Regions from separate parts of the Homo sapiens genome. Here region 2 is linked to region 1. The links are contacts of gene promoters, found by promoter capture Hi-C in human tissues and cell types (Jung and others, 2019). All regions are on one chromosome and are shown on one strand. Each heading gives the region's core, a stretch centred on a gene start or on the middle of the fragment in contact. The rest is flanking DNA. Distances are from core to core; before and after follow the strand shown.

Region 1 (4,330 bases), core at 1,142-3,641:
TTCATCGTGTTACCCAGGCTGGTCTCGAACTCCTGAGCTCAGGCAATCTGCCCGCCTCGGCCTCCAAAGTACTGGGATTAGAGGCGTGAACCACCACGCCCTGCCTAAAAACCAGAGTTTTTAAGTCACTTCCTCATCAGTCCACCAGCATTTATCTAGGCATGGATCCTCTCTCTTTCATACTGAGTGGGTGAGGAAGTGTGTTTCAAAGAGAAGGAAACGAAAAGTAAGAGAAATTAACTGGTTATGCCACAATTCTTCACTCATTACTTGATTCAATAAACATAGAGGACCCTTCGGTAGGACCATATGCTGCAGGAAATACAAAGATGAATAAGATGTAGCCCTCATCCCCAAGAATCTTTTAGTCTAAAACTTGCATTAACAATGATGAAGTGGTCAGGTGTGGTGGCTCACGCCTGTAATCCCTTTGAGAGATCTAGATGCAAGGACTGTTTAATCCCAGGAGGTTGAGGTTGCTGTGAGCCACGATTGTGCCACTGCACTCTGGCCTGGGCTACAGAGGAAGACCCTGTTTCAGAAACAAACAAACACACACACACACAACCCAAAACAAAAAGCAATGATGAAGCAAGGTCAAAATTCATTAGCATCATATGAAAGCTTCTGAGAGTAGGTTCTGAGGAAGGAAAAGTTGCCACCAGCTTGAGGGGAGGGTCTCCGGAAAGCTGTAAGAAAAAGGCAGACGCGGATTGGTTTTGGTGTAAACGGAGTAAAGAAGAGAGGAATTCCAGGGGGAGGTCAGTGGTCAGGTCTGTGTTTTCTAAAGATCACTCTGGCAACAAGTTGTTACTAGATTGAGGAACAGTGAAAGAATTAATAACAATAATAGTAGAAGCTGATAATAGCTAAGTACTTATTATGTCAGTCCTTGAACTAAGTGCTTGACCTGTTTTATCTCACGTAATCCTTAAAACAACCTGTGAGACAGGAATTATTATTCCCATTTTATAGGGGAAGGCATGGAAGAGTCCGTACTTCCTTCCATGTCTAACAAAACAATTTGTATTCTTGGCCATGAGAACTCGGGTAAGAAAGTGAAACAGACCTGATCTAAATCAGGGACTGTGGGATAGAGAAGAGAGATTTTGGAGAATTAGGGAGGAAGATAACCTATGTTTCTCACAGCCAATGGGCCTCCTAAGTGTTTGAATGATACACCCCATAAACACTAAAACCACCTCTGAGACTCTATTCTGCCTAAAGGACTATGACTTAGATTGAACCTGCCTTGTCATGTAAGCCTAACTCCATGGTAGGAGCCATGTCTTTTGGTTATCACTGTCACATTCTGTCACTCCATCTGGCAAATGGTGCGTACTCAAATTTTATCTGTTGAATGAGAAAATTTTCATCTTGTCATCCAACATTTCTTGGAACCTGGGGCAATACATTGTTTCCCCTCTCCCACACCCACACTTCAGTTTCCCTATCTTTATATTAGAGTAGGTTGAATCTCATTAACTCATTATATGTTAAGATAAATAAGCTGTTATTCAGGTCATTAATTACCTTGGGCAAAGGTAGGGATATCTAGGGGTTAGTGGGAGTGCCAATACTGGGTTAGATGTGGACCCTCTTTTTTTATACGCTCAATCCTATCATCTTGGCAATCCAAGAGGAAAAGGGTAGAAGACAGGTTTCATATTCCTTAAGGCAGTTTCCTTTACTATTTAAAGGTATTGGAGTTCTTGGGATAGAGAGGTAAACGCGCACAGAGATGTCCTCCCCCAGGACACCGCCCTTAAAATCAAACGGAGGAAGACTTTCTTCTCCTTGAATGCGCTTGGCAAACCCTGCCCAGAAAGGGGATGGGGGGACGGCCGTGGAGGTGGAGAAAGAATGCATCCACACCTCGCGCGTCTTCCCAAGTACGGATTGGCAAGTGGTATATGCGTGCAGACCTCTGTCATTTATTTATTTTCCTTTCCACTGGGTGCGCTGTCCCTTTAAATGGAGACGCTGGTGCTGGCTCCGTAACACCGGAGCCGGCAGCTTGTTGATTTCAGAGCTGGTGAATTTCACATTGTTTCCACTTCACTTTCCTCGCCCGGGGGAGGCTCCAGTTGGCTCTACGACCGCCGTTGCCGCTGCCAGAGAGGGCCAGGGCAGGGCAGGGACGCGCAGCATCGGGGCGGGCGTGGGGCCGGAGAAAAGGGTGTCGGGGCCACACACGCACCCTCGCTGCAGTCCAGCTCCTCCCGAAGCTCGCACGCCCAGAGCGCACGGAGCGGGGGACTGCCCGCCCAGACGCCCGCCCGCCAACCCGCCCACGAGCCGGGGCCAAAGCCTGGGAGCCTGCGAGGGGAGGAGGCCCAGGGGGGCGGGGTGGGGGGCGGGGGTGGGTGCCGCGCTGCCGCGGAGCTGCTACTCGGCGCGTTTTGCATGAAGATGGCGGCTCCCACCGCCAACAAGGCAGCCTCCCTGGGCTGTAACAACAAGCCTGCGTTCCCGGAGCTGGATTTCAGGTCGGGAGCTCGGGTGGAGGAATTGAACAAACTCATCCAAGAATTTACGAAGCACGACCAGCGGGAATACGACGACCAGAGAGCGCTGGAGATTCACACAGCCAAGGATTTCATCTTTTCCATGCTGGGTAAGGAGGAAAAAGGGGGAGGTGTGTGTGCGTGTGTGTGTGTGATGGGAAGCGGAGTAGAAAACCCATTGCCGCTTCTCGACCTCTTCCCTTCTGGGTTGCCTTCCCGAGCCGGTGCCTTGGGTATAAGCCATCTCTGTTCCGCCTCTCTCTTCTTTCTCCGCCGAAAGCCGAGCTGCCTGCCCTCCCCTCCTTACTATACTTTACGCCGGGTCTCCCTTTCCCCCTGTTCGCTTGCTCTTTTGTTAATTTCTCCGCCACCTGGGGCTGGCAGGCAGGTGAGGCGTTCGCGGTGAAGCGTTGCACTGTTGGGGGAAGCCCCTGGAAGCGAGTGCAGTCCAGGTGAGCCCCTGAGGTGCCTTCAGTTGAGGGATTTGGCTGCCGGAGGCAGGGACCTCCGCTTTCCCGACGCCGGCTCTTGGGTGCTCTCCCGAGCTTGGGAGCGGAGACGGCTCAGGGCTCTGGCTTGGCGCCCGAGCGACAAGTTGCTTCTGTCGTCTCGCGGCGCGGCGCTGTCATGCCGAGCCCCCGGTGGCCAAACTTGTTGGGTGTTCCCGAGTAACCCGCTGAAGTAGTCTAGGCGTCCGGAGTTCCTGCAACTTTGATTTGCAAATTGACTTCTCTTATGAAGCGATCGGAAGCATTTCCGGTGCTTCTTCAGGGCTCTCGCTGAGCTCGGAATTCTTAATTCCCAGCTCTTCCGTGACTAGGCGCGGAGCTCTGGCCGCAGAGGAGCGCCGGTTCCCTGCTCTTTGTGTATTGTCTTAGCGCTGGCCGAAAGAGGTGCCCAGAGTTTCCAACCGCGGAGACGTCGGGGGCTAGAAAATGTGTCCCCCACTCCCACCTCCAGCCCCTCACCTACGGCTCCTGAAACATGATTGAATGCTGTGTAAAGGAACATAATTGAGCCAGGCCCGGGAGACCGAGCCCACCCTCCCCAGGTGTCCTGCCGTTGGGATTATTGCTACTGAGGTGTAGTGTGAGTTTGCCAGGCGCCTGGGTTGTAACTTGCGGCTCCGCCAGCGGATCCGTGGCTGTCAAGCGGTGCGTGGCCGGCGGTCAACATTCCGAAGAACTGGTACTCCAGGGTAGCGCTGCTCTAACGCTCGTCTCTGGGTGCTCTCTACAAATAGATAAGCCAATTTTCCAGGTGTTGAAAAATTTGATTGGGAAAGGTCTTTTGGCCACAGACTAAGACAGGGCTTTTCTCTTTCTCCTGCAATCTAATTGGGTTTCAGCCGGCTGTTGCTGCTTCTATCCTGGGATACCTTCTTCCTTCTAGGTTTTCTTCTTCCTCACTGCCCAAGGACGGGGTAATACAGACTGAACGTGTCTGTGTCCGCTGGTAGTTGTTCACGCGTTGGGAAGTTAGATGAAACATGTTAAAACTCTAGGCTGGTTTTTACCTTTTGCGCCGCACTCTTCAAGTGTGTCTTACGTTGCGTATGAGGTTGAAAAACTATTGAGAGATTCAGCCGTTCAACTATGTAGATGAATAGATGAATTAAATATATATATATATATATATATAAAACCTGGTAGGAGTGAGCTTCCACAGGGAAGCCTAAAATGCTTACAAAGCCAAAAGCCAACACAGTGATTGTCAGGAAGGTGGGGCCACACACAGAAGGCTGAGCGCAGTTACTTAAGTTGTTTAGTTAATCATAGCCTTTCTCTGTGGCATAAATAATGGAAGTCTGCCATTGTGTTAAT
Region 2 (4,050 bases), core at 856-3,355, 630 kb before region 1:
GTTGGCACTTTGGTGAGGGAGTTAGTCATTTGCCGATGGATCCAGAAGAGATTCATTTTGGGTGCCCATTTCAAGGCTTTGTGAAGACTAGACAGAGTAGGTTGACTTGACAAATTGGCTCATAGCTACTTCTGAGTGCCCTTCATATAAACCTTGGTAAGCTGCCTGAAACCACAGGCTGGGTAGAGTTGAAAGGCAGCTCAGAATACCATCTCCTCAACTTTTCCCTCAGCCTAAGGCTATTCTTGTGGACAATGAGTACAGCTGTACCTGAAATGGCCCCTCAGAAAAAGAACAGAGAGGAGGCCCAAATGTCCTGAATGCTTTCCAGAGAAATATAATGTCCTCAGGCCAGGACACTCTGATTTCAGTGGGTACACATGCAGGGCCCTGGCTAAAACTGTAATCACTTCAGCATTTCCAGAATCTGTTGCCTTCTTGGGGGAACTATGGCTGAAGGATTTTGAAACTCTGGTACTTGAGTTTCAGAATCAGTACTTAGAAGATAATATTGTGAAAAATGCTTCATGTTTTGAGGCCAGTTCTAAAACAAAACTATCCAAGAATTAAGTTTGGGTAGATGGAGAGATCTGAGACTATCTTATTTCATGTTTATATTTAACATGTCACATTGACTTTATTTGATATATTTCTGATGAGATGAATTGAAAAATGTGTGCATATATTATGAGTTTCTCTCTTCTCTCCTGACTCAAGTGGGTTGTTAACCTCAATCTTACAAAAGGAGGCACTGAGAAACTATATAATATACCCAAATCTGGCATCTAAGAAGCAAAAAAAACAGAAATTAAGCATAGGCAGATTGACTTCAAACCTTCTGCTCATATCTCAGTGTACTTTATGCTTTTGATGTAGCCTGTTATTACCAGTACCAGTACTAGTACTGCTACATAAGCCCCACACAGTACTTATTAGTTTAGCAGTTATTTTATACTTTGGGCTTATTTTGAACTTGTGAGAAACAAAACCTCCAGATCCCTTTTTGTATAAGTCTTAAATCTCTGATCTTTTGGGCTTAGAAGTGATTAGGATCACAGGTGTTGAAATCAAATCATCTGGATACTCCTTCACTTTTTCGTCATCTATGCATTCCTGTATTGTAGAAGTGGTCTCTCTTTGTGCTCCTGTTTCTCTCCCAGTGGTATCCTCCTGGGCTTATGACTCAGTGCTAGGCTTGTAGTAGAGGTAGACAGGGTTATCTGTTGCACTTGTCCAGACTTAGTCTTAGGTAATCCCTTTGTATCTTAGCTTCAGGGAGTAGTGCTTTGTCAATATTCATATTCTCCCTCTCTGTGGCAGCCAAATCTGTCTTATACTTGTAGTTTTCTTAGGTGAGAGTTTCTTGCTTCTCCACTAGCTATTAATTTCATTTGATTTTAATGTAGAATCCTGGTTTCAGAATAGTGAATGGTAAAAGTTTTTGCCTTTATCCTTCATCCGGCTTCAATTGATTTTTGCTTGTGTCCTGGCAGATGGTTTCTTACTTAGAAGTAATTGGCCTTTGTCAGTTACTATCTCATTCCAGAAGCTTAAATAGTAGGAGAGAAGAGTCCAGAGAAGTAAGAGGGAAGTTGAGCCTGTCTCCTGGAGCCATTAGTCACCTCCTTCAGACCTATGCTGCCAAAGGGAGCTCTCTCTGATGTCCTCCTCTGCCCCCAGTCTGTCTGATGAACACCAACTGATGCTTGGGAAGAAGAGTTTCTGAGTGGATGCCAGCCTCTTTCTGAGTCTCAGACCTTTAGATATTCAAGCTAAACTGATGCTGTAGTCCAAACTTGGACTTTATAAATTTGTTAAAATTTTAGCTCATTTCTTCTTATCACTCATATGGCCAACATCACTTTCATGAGATGCAAAAGGTAAAAACATTGTTTTAACCTGTTTCTTTTTGGAAGAACTTGTTCTTTGGAATTTGGTTTACTTGATTTCCTTGAAACCTTAGCTATCTGATGAGTTCAAGAAAATTTATGACTTCGTGGATTATCTCTATTTTTTCCTGGTTGTTAGGGGGAGTGTGATGTTCTTTGTAGCATTCTACATTCAGAAGCAAAAATCCTCAAGAGAGACTTTTGAAAATCAGATAAAGTGTGTGTTAATGATTGTCCTAACCAGTTGGTTAAGATCGGCTATCAAAAGACTATATGAGGTTGGTTTGGCAAGACTAGTTTAGTGTTGCTTACTTATTCTTAGTGGTTTCTGCATTCTTTTCCATGTGCCCATTTGCCAATGGGGTTGTTTGTTTCTTATAAAAGTTCAAGTTCCTTATAGTTTCTGGATATTAGACCTCTGTCAGATAGACTGCAGACATTTTCATTCAGTCTGTAAATTGTCTGTTCACTCCGATGATGGTTTCTTTTGTTGTGCAGAAGCTCTTTAGCTTAATTAGATCCCATTTATGAATTTTTGCTTTTGTTGCAATTGCTTTTGAAGTTTTTGTCATGAAATCTTTGCCTGTGCCTATGTTTTTAATGGTATTGCCTAGATTTTCTTCTAGGCTTTTTTTTTTTTGAGATGGAGTCTTGCTCTGTTGCCCAGGCTGGAGTGCAGTGGTGCGATCTCAGCTCACTACAAGCTCCGCCTCCTGGGTTCACGCCATTCTCCTGCCTCAGCCTCCCCAGTAGCTGGGACTACAGGCATCCACCACCACACCCGGCTAATTTTTGTTGTATTTTTTAGTAGAGACAGGGTTTCACCATGTTAGCCAGGATGGTCTCGATCTCCTGACCTTGTGATCTGCCCACCTCGGCCTCCCAAAGTGCTGGGATTACAGGCGTGAGCCACCGTGCCTGGCCTCTTCTAGGTTTTTTATAGTTTTGGGTTTTACATTTAAGACTTTAATCCATATTGAGTTAATTTTTGTATAAGGTGTAAGGACAGGGTCCAGTTTCAATTTTCTGCATATGGCTAGCCAGTTTTCCCAGCACCATTTATTAAATAGGGAATCCCTTCCCCATTGCTTGTTTTTGTCAGGTTTGTCAAAGATCAGGTGGACGTAGATGTGTGGTGTACTTTCTGAGATATCTATTCTGTTTCATTGGTGTATGTGTCTGTTTTTGTACCAGTACCATGCTGTTTTGGTTACTGCAGACTTGTAGTATAGTTTGAAGTCAGGTAGCCTGATGCCTCCAGCTTTGTTCTTTTTGCTTAGGATTGTCTTGGCTATGGGGACTCTTTTTTTTTTGGGTACCATATAAATTTTAAAGTAGTTTTTTTCTAATTCTATGAAGAATGTCAATGGCAGTTTAATGGGAATAGCATTGAATCTATAAATTACTTTGGGCAGTGTGGCCATTTTCATGATATTGATTCTTCCTATTCATGAGCATGGAATGTTTTTCCATTTGTTTGTGTCCTCTCTCATTTCCTTGGGCAGAGTTTTCTAATTCTCCTTGAAGAGATTCTTCACTTCCCTTGTTAGCTGTATTCCTAAGTACTTTATTCTCTTTGTAGCAATTGTGAATGGGAGTTCATGATTTGGCTTTCTGCTAGTCTAGTGTTGGTGTATAGGAATGCTTTTGATTTTTGCACATTGATTTTGTATCCTGAGACTTTGCTGAAGTTGTTTATTAGGTTAAGAAGCTTTTGGGCTGAGATGATGGGGTTTTCTAGATATAGGATCATGCCATCTGCAAGCAGAGACAGTATGACTTCCTCTTTTCCTATTTGAATACCCTTTATTTCTTTCTCTTGCCTGATTGCCATGGACACAACTTCCAAGCTGGGTTTTATTGTTATACTTCACAAGGAGCCCTCTGATAACTCTAGGATTACACATCCCCAGGTACCACTTCAAGTGGAAAAAAGAACTTGCCTTTCTTTCAATAGTCTTAGCCAAATACTCTTTCTTCTCACTGGCTCTGACTGAATCATTTTTGCTTTTTAAATTTATTTGTGTGGCCATTGGAATACTATGCTTGTTGTCACATGCCCTCTCCTAGAGTTGGGGTCAGAGTCAACTCTGCATGAAGCACATCAGCTGCAAATAGTGAAGGGTGTAGTTTGCCAGAAGAATATTGGGGTATTGGATAC

The links. Contacts are between HindIII fragments. The study calls those that stand out against the background at their distance.
Region 2: a contact is called between a fragment that was not itself captured here and the fragment with the promoter of MB21D2 in region 1, in 1 of the 25 tissues and cell types used here (dorsolateral prefrontal cortex).

The regions. Positions count from the first base shown.
Region 1 is chr3:192,915,917-192,920,246 of GRCh38, reverse strand. MB21D2 (Mab-21 domain containing 2) reads left to right here and starts at 2,391. Exons shown (of 2, transcript NM_178496.4): 1 at 2,391-2,617. The coding sequence starts at 2,407. RefSeq lists a silencer at 2,086-2,445 and an enhancer at 3,096-3,425. The HindIII fragment of the contact is 14,649 bases long and covers 1-4,330 here.
Region 2 is chr3:193,541,647-193,545,696 of GRCh38, reverse strand. The region is part of intron 1 of ATP13A4 (ATPase 13A4); the gene reads left to right. Among named protein-coding and RNA genes, the nearest start is that of ATP13A4-AS1, 9.5 kb to the left of the region's middle. The HindIII fragment of the contact is 5,057 bases long and covers 1-4,050 here.